Linked DNA regions of Homo sapiens: region 1 is linked to region 2. The links are contacts of gene promoters, found by promoter capture Hi-C in human tissues and cell types (Jung and others, 2019). All regions are on one chromosome and are shown on one strand. The core of a region is centred on a gene start or on the middle of the fragment in contact, and the rest is flanking DNA. Distances in the headings are between cores, read along the strand shown. Region 1 overlaps ZNF623 (zinc finger protein 623). Region 2 holds the start of EPPK1 (epiplakin 1).

The links. Contacts are between HindIII fragments. The study calls those that stand out against the background at their distance.
Region 1: a fragment that was not itself captured here is called in contact with the fragment with the promoter of EPPK1 in region 2 in 6 of the 25 tissues and cell types used here (IMR-90 fibroblasts, dorsolateral prefrontal cortex, hippocampus and 3 more).

Annotation. Positions count from the first base shown.
Region 1 is chr8:143,638,825-143,644,525 of GRCh38, forward strand. The region is part of intron 1 of ZNF623 (zinc finger protein 623); the gene reads left to right. Among named protein-coding and RNA genes, the nearest start is that of ZNF623, 5.7 kb to the left of the region's middle. The HindIII fragment of the contact is 7,039 bases long and covers 933-5,701 here.
Region 2 is chr8:143,875,169-143,881,112 of GRCh38, forward strand. It overlaps EPPK1 (epiplakin 1), which reads right to left and starts at 3,299. Exons shown (of 2, transcript NM_031308.4): 1 at 3,270-3,299. RefSeq lists enhancers at 147-789, 4,009-4,651 and a silencer at 3,353-3,442. The HindIII fragment of the contact is 27,880 bases long and covers 1-5,944 here.

The sequences.
Region 1 (5,701 bases), core at 3,202-5,701, 240 kb before region 2:
AAAATTTAAAATCAGAAGGTATCAACTGAGTTCCAAAACAAGAAACCAACATCTCCACCCCACCGTTCTCCCACTTCTTTTTTTTGAGATAGAGGTTTGCTCTTGTTGCCCAGGCTGGAGTGCAATGGCGCGATCTCAGCTCATTCCACCCTCTGCCGCCCAGGTTCAAGAGATTCTCCTGCCTCAGCCTCTCGAGAAGCTGGGATTACAGGCGTGTGCCACCACACCTGGCTAATTTTGTATTTTTAGTAGAGATGGGGTTTTACCATGTTGGCCAGGCTGGTCTCGAACTCCTGACCTCAGGTGATCTGCCTGCCTCGGCCTCCCAAAGTGCTGGGATTACAGGCATGAGCCACCATGTCCGGCCCACCCCCTTTTTAATTTATTTTTATTTTTATTTATTTATTTTTGAGATGGAGTTTCGCTCTTGTTGCCCAGGCTGGAGTGCAATGGCGTGATCTCAGCTCACTGCAGCCTCCACCTCCGCCTCCTGGGTTCCAGTCATTCTCCCGTCTCCGCCTCCCAAGTAGCTGGGATTACAAGCATGTGCCACCATGCCCAGCTAATTTTGTATTTTTAGTAGAGACGGGGGTTTCTCCATGTTGGTCAGGCTGGTCTCGAACTCCTGACCTCAGGTGATGTGCCTGCCTAGGCCTCCCAGAGTGTTGGGATTACAGGCGTGAGCCACTGCATCTGGCCTGTCTTTTTAAAATACAGACTGTGTTTCACCATGTTGACCAGGCTGGTCTCTAAGTCCTGAGCTCAAGCAGTCTACCTGCCTCAGCCTCCCAAAGTGCTGTGATTACAGGTGTGAGCCGCCGCACCTGGCCCAGTTTGAATTTATCATCATGGGGAGAATTGAATCTGAATATTTTGAGTTGTATATTAGCATTATTTAAGACGTAGGTTAAAGTTGCTGTAACAGATTCAAATACGGTGTTTCAAATAAGAAACTTGAGTTGTCTTATTCTCTCTTAAAGGTAGGGTTGGCCTCCAGGGACTCTGGCTGCCCTGCCTCATCAGCACTGTGGGGAGGGGAGAGAGTGGACAGCACGCACACATCACTTCCCTTCTCGCCTCATCTTGGTCACAAACTCACCTAACTTAAGGGGACACTAGGAAATGTCATTTATGGGGCAGTCATTAGTAATTTGATGGGGTTTCTAACACTTAAAGGAAGAAGGAAACAGGAATGCTAGGGAACCACATTGGCTACCCAAGTGTCCAGTGGACCTTTCATCCCACACATGGGGATGTGCCAGTGTGGGTCCAGACCACTGCAATAAAGTGAATAGCAAAACAAAGCAAGTCACAGAAACTTCTTAGCTTCCCAGTGTATATAAAAGTTACGTTTAGGTATGCTGTGGTTACTATTCAGTATGCAATAGCATTATGTCTAAAAATGTAAATAATTTAAAGATACTTTATTGCTAAAAGATGATCATCTGAGCCTTAAGTTGTAATCATTTTGCTGATGGAGGGTCTTGCCTTTCTTGATGGCTGCTGACTGATCAGGGTGATGGTTGCTGAAGGTTGGTGTGACTGGCAGTTTCTTAAAATGGGACGATGAAGTTTGTCACATCAGTGGAATCTTGCTTTCACAAAAGATTTCTCTGTAGCATGCAAAGCTGTTCGCTAGTATTTTACCCAAGTAGAACTTCTTTCAAAATTAGAGTCAAGCCTCTCAAACCCTGCCTGTGTTTTATCAACTAAGTTTATGGAATCTTCAAAATCCTTTGTTGTCATTTCAACAGTGTTCACGGCATCTTCACCAGGAGCAGATTCCATGTCAAGAAGCGTACTTGTTTTCCTCATCTCTAAGAAGCAACACCTCAGCCGGGCATGGTGGCTCGTGCCTGTAATCCCAGCACTTTGGGAGGCTGAGGCAGGTGGATCACCTGAGGTCAGGAGTTTGAGACCAGCCTGGCCAACATAGCCAAATCCCGTCTCTACTAAAAATACAAAAATTAGCTGGGCGTGGTGGCGCACTCCTGTAATCCCAGCTACTCAGGAGGCTGAGGCAGGAGAATTGCTTGAACCCGGGAGGTGGAGGTTGCAGTGAGCCGAGATTGCACCACTCCACTCTGCCTGGGGAACGAGAGTGAAACTCTGTCTTTAAAAAAAAAAAAAAAAAAAAAAAAAAAGCAGCAGCACCTCATCCATTCAAGTTTGATCACGAGATTGAAGCAATTCAGTGACATCTTTAGGCTACACTTCTAAATCTAGCTCTCTTGCTATTTTCACCACATCTATAGTTGCTTCCTCCACTGAAGTCTCAAACCCCTCAAAGATTCATGAGGGCTGGAATCAGGTTTTTCCAAAATACCAAATGTTGATGTTTTGACCTCCTCCCATAAATCATGAATGTTCTTCGTGGCATCTATAATGATGACTCCTTTCCAGAAGGTTTTCGGCTGACTTTGCCCAGATCCATCAGAGGAATCATTATGGCACCTACAGCCTTGTGAAACATATTTCTTAATAAGACTTGAAAGTTGGAGTGACTCCCAGCCAGGGGCTGCAGAATGCACGTTGTGTTGGCAAAAGAAGAACATCAGTCTCCCTGTTCATCTCCATCAGAGCTCTTGGGTGACCAGGAGCATTGTCAGTGAGTAGTGTTTTTTTTTTTTTTTTTTTTTTTTTCTTTTTTTTTTTTTTTGAGACGGAGTCTTGCTCTGTCGCCCAGGCTGGAGTGCAGTGGCGGGATCTCGGCTCACTGCAAGCTCCGCCTCCCGGGTTCACGCCATTCTCCTGCCTCAGCCTCCCAAGTAGCTGGGACTACAGGCGCCCGCCACTACGCCCGGCTATTTTTTTGTATTTTTAGTAGAGACGGGGTTTCACCGTTTTAGCCGGGATGGTCTCGATCTCCTGACCTCGTGATCCACCCGCCTCGGCCTCCCAAAGTGCTGGGATTACAGGCGTGAGCCACCGCGCCCGGCCGTGAGTAGTGTTTTGAAAGGAATCTTTTTTTCTGAGCAGTAGGTCTCATTAGTGAGCTTAAAATACTCCATAAACCATGCTGTAAACAGATGCACTGTCATCCAGGCTTTGTTATTCCATTTCCAACACAGGCAGAGTGGATTTAGCATCATTCTTAAGGGTCCTAGAATTTTTGGAATGGGAAATGACCATTGGCTTCACGTCACCAGCTGCATTCGCCCCTAACGAGAGTCAGCCTGTCCTTTTCAATCTTTGAAGCCAGGCATTGACTTCTCTCTAGCTGCGAAAGTCCTAGATGCCATCTTCTTCCAATAGAAAGCGGTTTTATCCACACTGAAAATCTTTTTAGAGTAGCCACCTTAGTCAACCATCTTAGCTAGATCTGGAGAACTTGCTTCAGTTTCTCCCGTAAAGCTTGCAGCTTCACCTTGCACTTCTATGTGTGGAAGTGACTTCTTTCCTTAAACCTCATGAACCAACCTCTGCTGGTTTTCTGCTTTTCTTCCGCAGCTTCCCTCACCCGTCTCGGCCTTCATAGAATTGAGGACGGTTAGGACCTTGCTGTGGATTCAGCTTTGGTTGCCAGTCACACCAGCTGTCGGGCAAAGTTGTTGTTTTAATCTCTCCAGACCACTCAGACTTCTTCCACATCAGCAATAAGGCTGTCTTGCTATCCTGTCATTTGTGTGTTCACTGGAGCAGCTCGTTTAATTTCCTTCTGGGGCTTTTCCTTTGCATTGCCGCTCAGCCGTTTGATGCAAGAGGCCCGGCTTTCTGACTGAGTTTTAGACATGCCTTCCTCACAAAGCTTAATCATTTCTAGCTTTTGGTTTAAAGTGAGAGATGTGGGATTCCTCCTTTCACGTGAGAGGCCATGGTAAGGTTACTAATTAGCCTAATCTCAATATTGTTATATCCAGGGAAGGGGGAGGCTGGAGGAAAGGGAGAGATGGGGAACAGCCGGTTGGTGGTGGATGTAGGAAACACACATTGATAATTCAGCTTCTTATATGGGTGCGGTTCATGGTGCCCCAAACAGTGACAGTAGTTTTAGATTCCTGTTACCTGCCGGGCACCTGGCATGGGTGTGGAGGGCAGAGTTCTGAGGTGGTCTCTTAGATTCCTGGCCCCTAATGTACACACCCCTTCTTCCAGTTACTCATTCAGACACTCATCTGGTACTGTCATGAAGAGACTTGCAGATGTCGGGAGGTCCCAGGTCAGTGAGGTGAGAAGGGAGGTCGTCTGGGAGAGCCTGACCTAATCACACAGACCCTGGGAAGCAGAGGTTCCTCCATCTGGTTGGAGAACAGAGGCTGAGATTAGATGCGTGAGAAAAATGTGATGTGCTGTGCCTGCCTTGAGATTCAGGTGGCCCCTAGGGGCGGCTCCTGCTCACAGCCAGTAAGCACACAGGGTTCTTAGTCCTACAGTTGCAGGGAACTGGATTCTGCCACGAAATCTGAATGAGTTTGGAAACCAGTTTTCCCCAGGGCCTCCAGATGAGAGCTCAGCCCGATGACATACAGTTGCAGCTTTGCGTGACCCTGCGTGGAGATCCCAGCTGGCCTGGCCTGGATGTGTGACCTGCAGAACTGTAGGGTAACAAATGCATGCTGCTTTAAGCTGCTGAGTTTGTGTAAATTGTTTTTGGAGCAGTGGATAACTGGGAGAGGGCTTGGCACTGGGCGGGTGGAGTCCCCTTCTTGGAAGCAGTTCCCAGAGTGAGGATTCCCAGACTGCAGGCTGGGGCATTGCCCTCCACAGCGGGGTTGGATAGAGCATCCCAGTGCCTGCGTGAGGTCGCATAATTCCGGGTCCAGTCAGCTTTTCCAAAGTGAGCACCTGTGTGACTCAGGGCACCACCATGTGCCCCTGCCAGTGACAGTGTCTCCTGAACACCATTGCAGCTTACATCCTTCCACCAGGGATTGGCTCTCTGTTTTCTAGCTTTATGTAAATGGAGTCGTACAATATGAGCTCTTTTGTGCCTGGCTGCTTTTGCTCAGCACTTCGTCTGTTGTGAGGTCCACCTGTGCTTTTATGTGTGGCAGTTTTTTTTCTGTGCATTATTGTTTGTGTGAGTCTTCTGTTGCTAGATATTTAGGGTGTTAGAATGTTGCTAAGAACACTCTAGCTACAGACTTCTGCAGGGTAGGCTTGCAGTTTCTCCAGCAACCTAATTCCCTTGAAAATATCCTCACTGTTGGGGCTGCTTGCTGCCAGTGCATCCCACGTCACAGCTCTGGTTTTGGTTTTTGTTTTTTATTTTTTGAGATGGAGTCTCACTTTGTCACCCAAGCTGGAGTACGGTGTTGTGATCTCTGCTTACTGCAACCTCTGCCTCCCAGGTTCAAGTGATTCTCCTGTCTCAGCCTCCCGAGTAGCTGGGATTACAGGTGCATGCCACCACACCTGGATAATTTTTGTATTTTTAGTAGAGATGAGGTTTCACCATAGCCAGGCTGGTCTCGAACTCCTGACCTCAAGTGATCCACCCACCTTAGCCTCCCAAAGTGTTGGGATTACAGGCATGAGCCGCTGTACCTGGTGCAGCTCTGGTTTTTAAACGAGCAGAACCTCCAGTTTTATTTACTGGCTTCTGGGCTGGGCTGATCCCCCCTCCCTCATTATATTGGCAGTGGCCTTGAGGTATTGAAGACAGTAGTAGTGGATGGGAAGGCAACATTACTGATCTTCGCAGTGGCCCGGCTCCCACTGCCCAGCAAGAACCCCAAAGAGAAGGTTCTTGAGGCGAGAC
Region 2 (5,944 bases), core at 2,049-4,548:
ACATGCAGAGCCTAACCCTAGAAGGCACTGGGTCCTCCCCATCCCCTCTCCCCATGTCTGGTCTCACGAAGGGCATGCTCCAGGGGCAACTCTGAGGGCTGTCGAGGCTCGTAGATGCCCCTCAGGACCACCTGTTAAGACTGCAGCCCACCTACCCACCTTGGCAAAACCCTGGCCCTCTCCCTTCCCTTCTGCAGATACTGGTCCCGGGCCTCCTCCAGGCATCCTGCTGCTGACAGGCTGCTCAGAGCCTCAGACACGGAGCTGGGACCAGGAGGGCTCACCATCACCTCACTGGCCGAGTGCAGAGAGCCAGGGCTCCAGGAAGCAGCATTGCAGCTCAGCTGTCCCGAGGGACCGTGCTCAGGACACAGTGTCAGGTGGCTGGGAAGACGTGGAGGATTCAGAGGACCATGGAGTAGGGCTGCTGGTAAACGACCAGCATTGGAGAAAGCTCACAAGAGGCTGCAGACGTCTGGCCAGCTGGCCGGTGCGCCACAGGGATGCCTGGGCGCTTGTCTTCGTGGTGCAATGGGCCACGGGCCCGCTGGCCACATCACAGTCTGCCCCAGCCAAAAGCTGCTGGCCTGACAGGATGTAGGAATCACTTCCTGAAGGCACAGCCGGGGTGCCAGCTCCCCAGTGACGCCTTGCAGGCTAGGGCACCATTCTCCAGGAAGTCGGCTATACCACTCCAGAACGTGGCTTCCCATGTGCGTGTGTCCCAGGAGGTGGGTCACAGGGGCCCAGGAACCAAGGCCTGGCACAGTGGCCCCCACCCCCCACCCCCCACTGACCTATGATGGAGCTTGGGCTCCTCGACCCCACAGCTCTGGGGCGGGTGGGCTTAGATGTCCTGGTCCCTGGAGTAGGAACACTTCTGCCAGGGGACACAGCTAGTGTCACCAAGCCAAAGGCTATGCTGCTCCCAGGCCCATCATGTCCCAGGAGCAAGCAGCCAGGAGGAGGCTCCCATCTGGCAGGGGACAGGCCTGAGCACCAGGAGGCGGCACCACAGGGGCAGACAGGGTGCAGGGACCTGGTGTGCCCTGCCTGGTTCTCATGGTAAATAGAACATCACCCCCAGCCCTAGAGGGGACCCTCAGGGAAGAGGACCTGGTCACACCTGACAAGCCCTGAGCCAGCAGGCGCGCCCGGGTTGAGGGCATCCAGTCTGGAGGACGGGGAGGCAGCCCCAGGGGCCAGGTCCACCCTGCAAAACTTGTTTCTGCACTTCCCCAGGAAGAGGCCAGGCTCAAGGGCACAGCCTGACCGGGGTGGCTACGGGGCTGTCCAGATCTGCTTCTGGGGGGTACATGAGACGGCAGGACAGGCCAGCTTCTCCTTCGTCCACCTGCTTCCTCCTCCCTTCCCTTCCTGAGGCCATCCTGAGACCACTCCCGGTTACCCCTGCCTCAGACAGACTCTGCTTCTGGGAACCCAGCCTGGGCGCTTTTGTGTCCACCTCTACTGGCACCTGCCTCCCCTAGGGCTGGGCCCTCTCCAGCACGCCTCGTTCCAGGACCCTCCAGGATCTGTGAGCCTAAGGCAGCCACTCACTATGGCATCCAGGCCAGACGAGGGGCTTCTAGGGGGTCAGGGCCCTGCCCTGTCCCCTGACATCCGGCCAGGGATGGCGGTGAGGAAATGAGAGGAGCACCTGATTTCCCAGCAAGGGGGAGGGGCAGTGCGGGCCAGGGTGGGGCAGGGCCAGCGAGGGCGGGGCAGGGCCAGTGAGGGTGGGGACAGCACCTTGGGCGGGCCCCTGACCTGCGCACAGGCCGCCAGCCCAGACAGGCCGCGTGCTAAGCGGGCCTCGTAAGCTCAGGCAAGTGGCTCAAGTTCCCCAAACAAAGAGGAGATCCAGGGAGGAAGGCTGGAGACAGGGCGCTTGGGAGCAGGGAGTCGGGGGCAGGCTTGCCCTGCGTGTGTGAGTGTGCCTGCCAGTGCATGCCCCGCACCATGCGTGAGATGCGGCCTGTGGCTGGCTGCACCACTCCCTATCTCTTCCTGACCTTGGGCCTGGTATGAACCCCTCTGGGCCCTGCCCCTTCCCTGGGCCCTGCCCCTTCCCAGGCTTGGCAGGAGGAAGGCCCGGGAGTGGGTGTCTTGACTCCATGTGGGGCCTGGGAGGGCAGCTGGACAGAGGGTCCGGAGCGAGGGGGGGCAGGGGGTGCAGCTTCGAGTGTGGGGGCATCTGGAGGAGGTGGCTGCTGCCTAGGAGAGCACGGGGTCAGGGTTAGGGTGATGGGGTGGGGAGGAGGCCGAGCAGATTTCCCCGGAGCCTGAGGCACAAAGGGCCCCTCCTGTGGATTCCCCACTTCAGGTGGCCCCCAGGCCCCAAGTGGTGGAGGGCCGTTCCTGAGGAGGGTGGGTCTGCATCTCTTGGGTGAGGTCACTGTCTGTCACCAGACTGCCCGGCAGGCCCCCACCGCAGCCTGGGACAAAGGTTGGGGAGGCTGCAGCCGCCTGCCTGAGTCAGGTCAGGACAGACCCTGGCAGCTGCCTGGGCCCACACAGGAGGCAGCAGCCTTAGCTTCTGCCCGGCTGTGTGCCCTTGTGGGAAGACCCCACCCACCTGCAACCTGCACCATGATCAGAGATCAGTGGCCCCAATAACAAGCTTGGCACAGTGCAGCGGGGGCCCAGGGCAGGGAAGCAGAGCCCTGGGCCCAAGTGATGAACAGGGCCCTTCCTGCCTCTGCCTCCCACGGGTCTCCAGGCGACCGTGTGACCGCTTACCTGACCCGGAGTGGCCACCCCTGGGACCGCTCACCCAACAGCAGGCAGCTTCCCCGGATCCGTGACGCCTCCCTCCCGGCAATGTTGCCAGGAGTCACCCCTCTCAATTTGTCGGCCTAGCTGCCTCCTGGCCTGGGCGTTCCCCACCCTGCAGAGCGTGCCCCGGGCGGTCCTCGCTGCAGGGAAAACCGCTGGGCCTGCGAGACCCCCGCCCCTGGCCGCCTCTCCCGTGAGGGCTCGGGGCCGGCGCCTCCTCTTCACCGGCGCCCGGGACTCAGGGGCGCCACTTCGGACTCGGAGCTCAAATTGCCCAGGGCGGGAAACCTGCCCGGCCAGAGCCCAAGACCCCGCTGGCCGCCGCGCCCCTACCCTGGCCTCGGCGTGCGGCTCCAGCGGGGATCCGGTTTCCTTCGGCGGCCGCCGCCCCGCCCGGCCCCGAGCCCGCACCCGCACCCGCCGCACCTGCCCGCACCCGCCGCACCTGCCCGCACCCGCCGCACCCGCCGCACCCGCCGCACCCGCCGCACCTGCCCGCTCGCCGCTCGGTCCGCAGTGTCTCCGCGCGCCCGCTCCGCCCGCATTTCAAGCCCCACAGGCCCCGCCCCCGTCTAGGGCGGCGCCCAGGTCGGGGCCCCGACGCGGGGCGGGGCGGGGCGGGCAGGTGCCGGAAACCCCGCGCGGCCCGGGCCTGGCGCTTGCACCCCGGGCAAGGGGCGGCGGCTGGGCAGCCGGGACCCTCCCCTCGTCCCCAGCAGGGAGTCACCGCGAAGGAACGCAGGGCGGGCGCGGAGGCGTCCTGTGCCCTTCAGAACAGCTTTTTTTTTTTGGGAAAGGAGTTTGGAGTGAAACGCGGACCGGCCAGAGCGGCGGTTTCTATCCCCACAAGCCACTAATGCGGTGCGGGCTGGTGTCCCTGCCTCCAGCCCCGACCCCACCTTGTCTGCTCAGCTTCCTGGGGACGCTGCTTCACGTCGTGTGTCTGCTGGGTCCAGGGGTCTTCAAGGCTCTCCTTGGCAGGCCCCCCTGCCCCCATGACGTTGTAAGAGCTGGGATGTCCTGCCTGGAGCAGTGCCAGGCCTCACCCCCCGGTCTGGCTCCTCCACCTGGGCACAGAGAATGTTCCCTGTCACCCTGGGAGTACCTGGTCCCCTCTCTGAAGCCCATCCTGGCACCCACCTTCCAAGGCTGGGGCATGCCAGAGACACTGGGCATGGAGGCTCACAGCCTCGGGGGCTGGCCTGGGGGCAGCCTCAGCCTGGCACGGGAACCTTCCATGGATCTTCTGGAGGGCCCTCCCCTTGGCTGCCCCGATATCCCAGGTGGGCAGGGCCACGGAAGTACAGGGCCCAAAGCCCCTCCTCCTCTGTCCCCAAGGCCCCTCCTCCTCTGTCCCGTAGTCCTGGAGGTCCTGAGGGCTCAGGTGCTCCCCACCCCCACAAGTGCCCCCTTCTCCCAAGCTCCAGCCCCCACCTCTGCCTGAGTCATTCTTGACCAGAAAATCATCCAGAGCCAGCCAGCCACCTCCAATGCACACCATGAGGGTAATTGCAGGCGCCCACGCAGGTGCAGGAGGGACAGGTTAGGCCTTCAGGGGTTAGGGTGCTTGGGACCACTGCCCTGGCTCTGCTCTCACCCACCCACCAGGTCCACACTCACACCTGCTCACCCAGGCTGCCTGGACCCTGTCCACACCTGCCACACTGGCCGCACAGCATGGCTGCTGCCGACTGCGGGGCCCTGACCCCAGAGGAGCTCTGGTGGAACCCGCATTTCCCCAAGGCACTGCCAGGCCAACCGCATCCATCCCCAGCCCTGCTCACCGGATGCCTGGACACTGTCTGTGTGGTCTTGCTGGGAGGCATGGTGGTGCTGGCTATGGCCTGTGGCCTGGAGCACACCCCAGAGCCACTTCTTCCTGCGGTGAGCCATTGCAGGCAGCGCCCCTGCCAGGCCACAAAACCTGGGTGTATGCCAGCCCCTCGCTGCAAGAAGGGGGTGTTAGGCTGGCCAGACCAAGCCTTCTTGTGTGCCCAGGGACGGGCCACATGCCTGTCTGCTCCTCACCCCTCCGGTATAGGCAGGTGGCACAGAGCTGGCCCTGCTCCGCTGCACCCATTTCTGCCCGTCACCCCTCCAGTATAGGCAGGTGGCACGGAGCTGGCCCTGCTCCGCTGCACCCATTTCTGCCCGTCACCCCCCTGGTATAGGCAGGTGGCATGGAGCTGGCCCTGCTCTGCTGCACCCACTGGCATCTGTCCCCTGGCTCCTCTCCCTCGGCTTTGTCTTCCTGTGACTCCAGATCCCCTGCCCTGTGGTGGCCCCCAGCCCAGTGACCTCTGGGGACACCTCTGGGGGCAGACTTGGGTGCCTGCCCTACTCCCCAGGTCCCTGGGCCACTCCCAGTCAGGGCTTCTGGGAGCCACCACCTCCCCAGGGGCTCCAGTCCAGTGCTTCAGCCCAGCAGTCCCCGGAGCCACAGGCCACTCCTCCAGCCCCCAGGCCTGGGCCTATACCACCTACACAGCAAGGAAGGGCATCAGGGAGGGTGTCAGGAGGTGAGCGAGAGGGCTCCCATGCCCAGTACTGCCCACGGCTCTACCCACCTCCTCCTGGCACTGGCACCTAGCTTCCCCCTGCAGGTCAGGGAGGCTCTCAGAAGACCTGGTCCAAGGAGGGAGGTCCCAGAGCCCCAAGACCAGTGCCCACGCTGCCCCTGGGCTGCTCCATGGAGTCACCGTGCTGGTTGGAGCCTTTGGCCAGGATCCCCATTGGTCCCTTGGAGCCTGGCATGGCCCAGCTCGAAGGGGAGTGCCCGCCATTGCTCCATAAAGCATCTGGGAGCAGGGTGTCCCCTCCACGGCACATGGCCCAGAGAGGAGACAGGGCAGATGCAGGCAGGATGGAGGGCCCGGCGGGAGCGGGTGGGACAGAGCTGAGCAGCAGGCTGACCTCTCCACCAAGGGCCTGGACATAGCAGCCGGCAGCTCCAACCGCAGGCCCAGGTACAGGGGGCGGGCAGCCTTGGGGGTGAGCCTTCCTCTCAGGCTGGGTGCCCTCACAGCAAAGACATGGGCTGCTCTCCCAGTGGCTCTCAGGGGACACCTGCCATCAGGGGAGCCCAGTGATGCAGCTGCCTCCGGGGGCAGGGAAGGGCTGAGGTGGGGGTTGGAGCCCTGCTGCCTCTGTCCCCCACGGAACCACC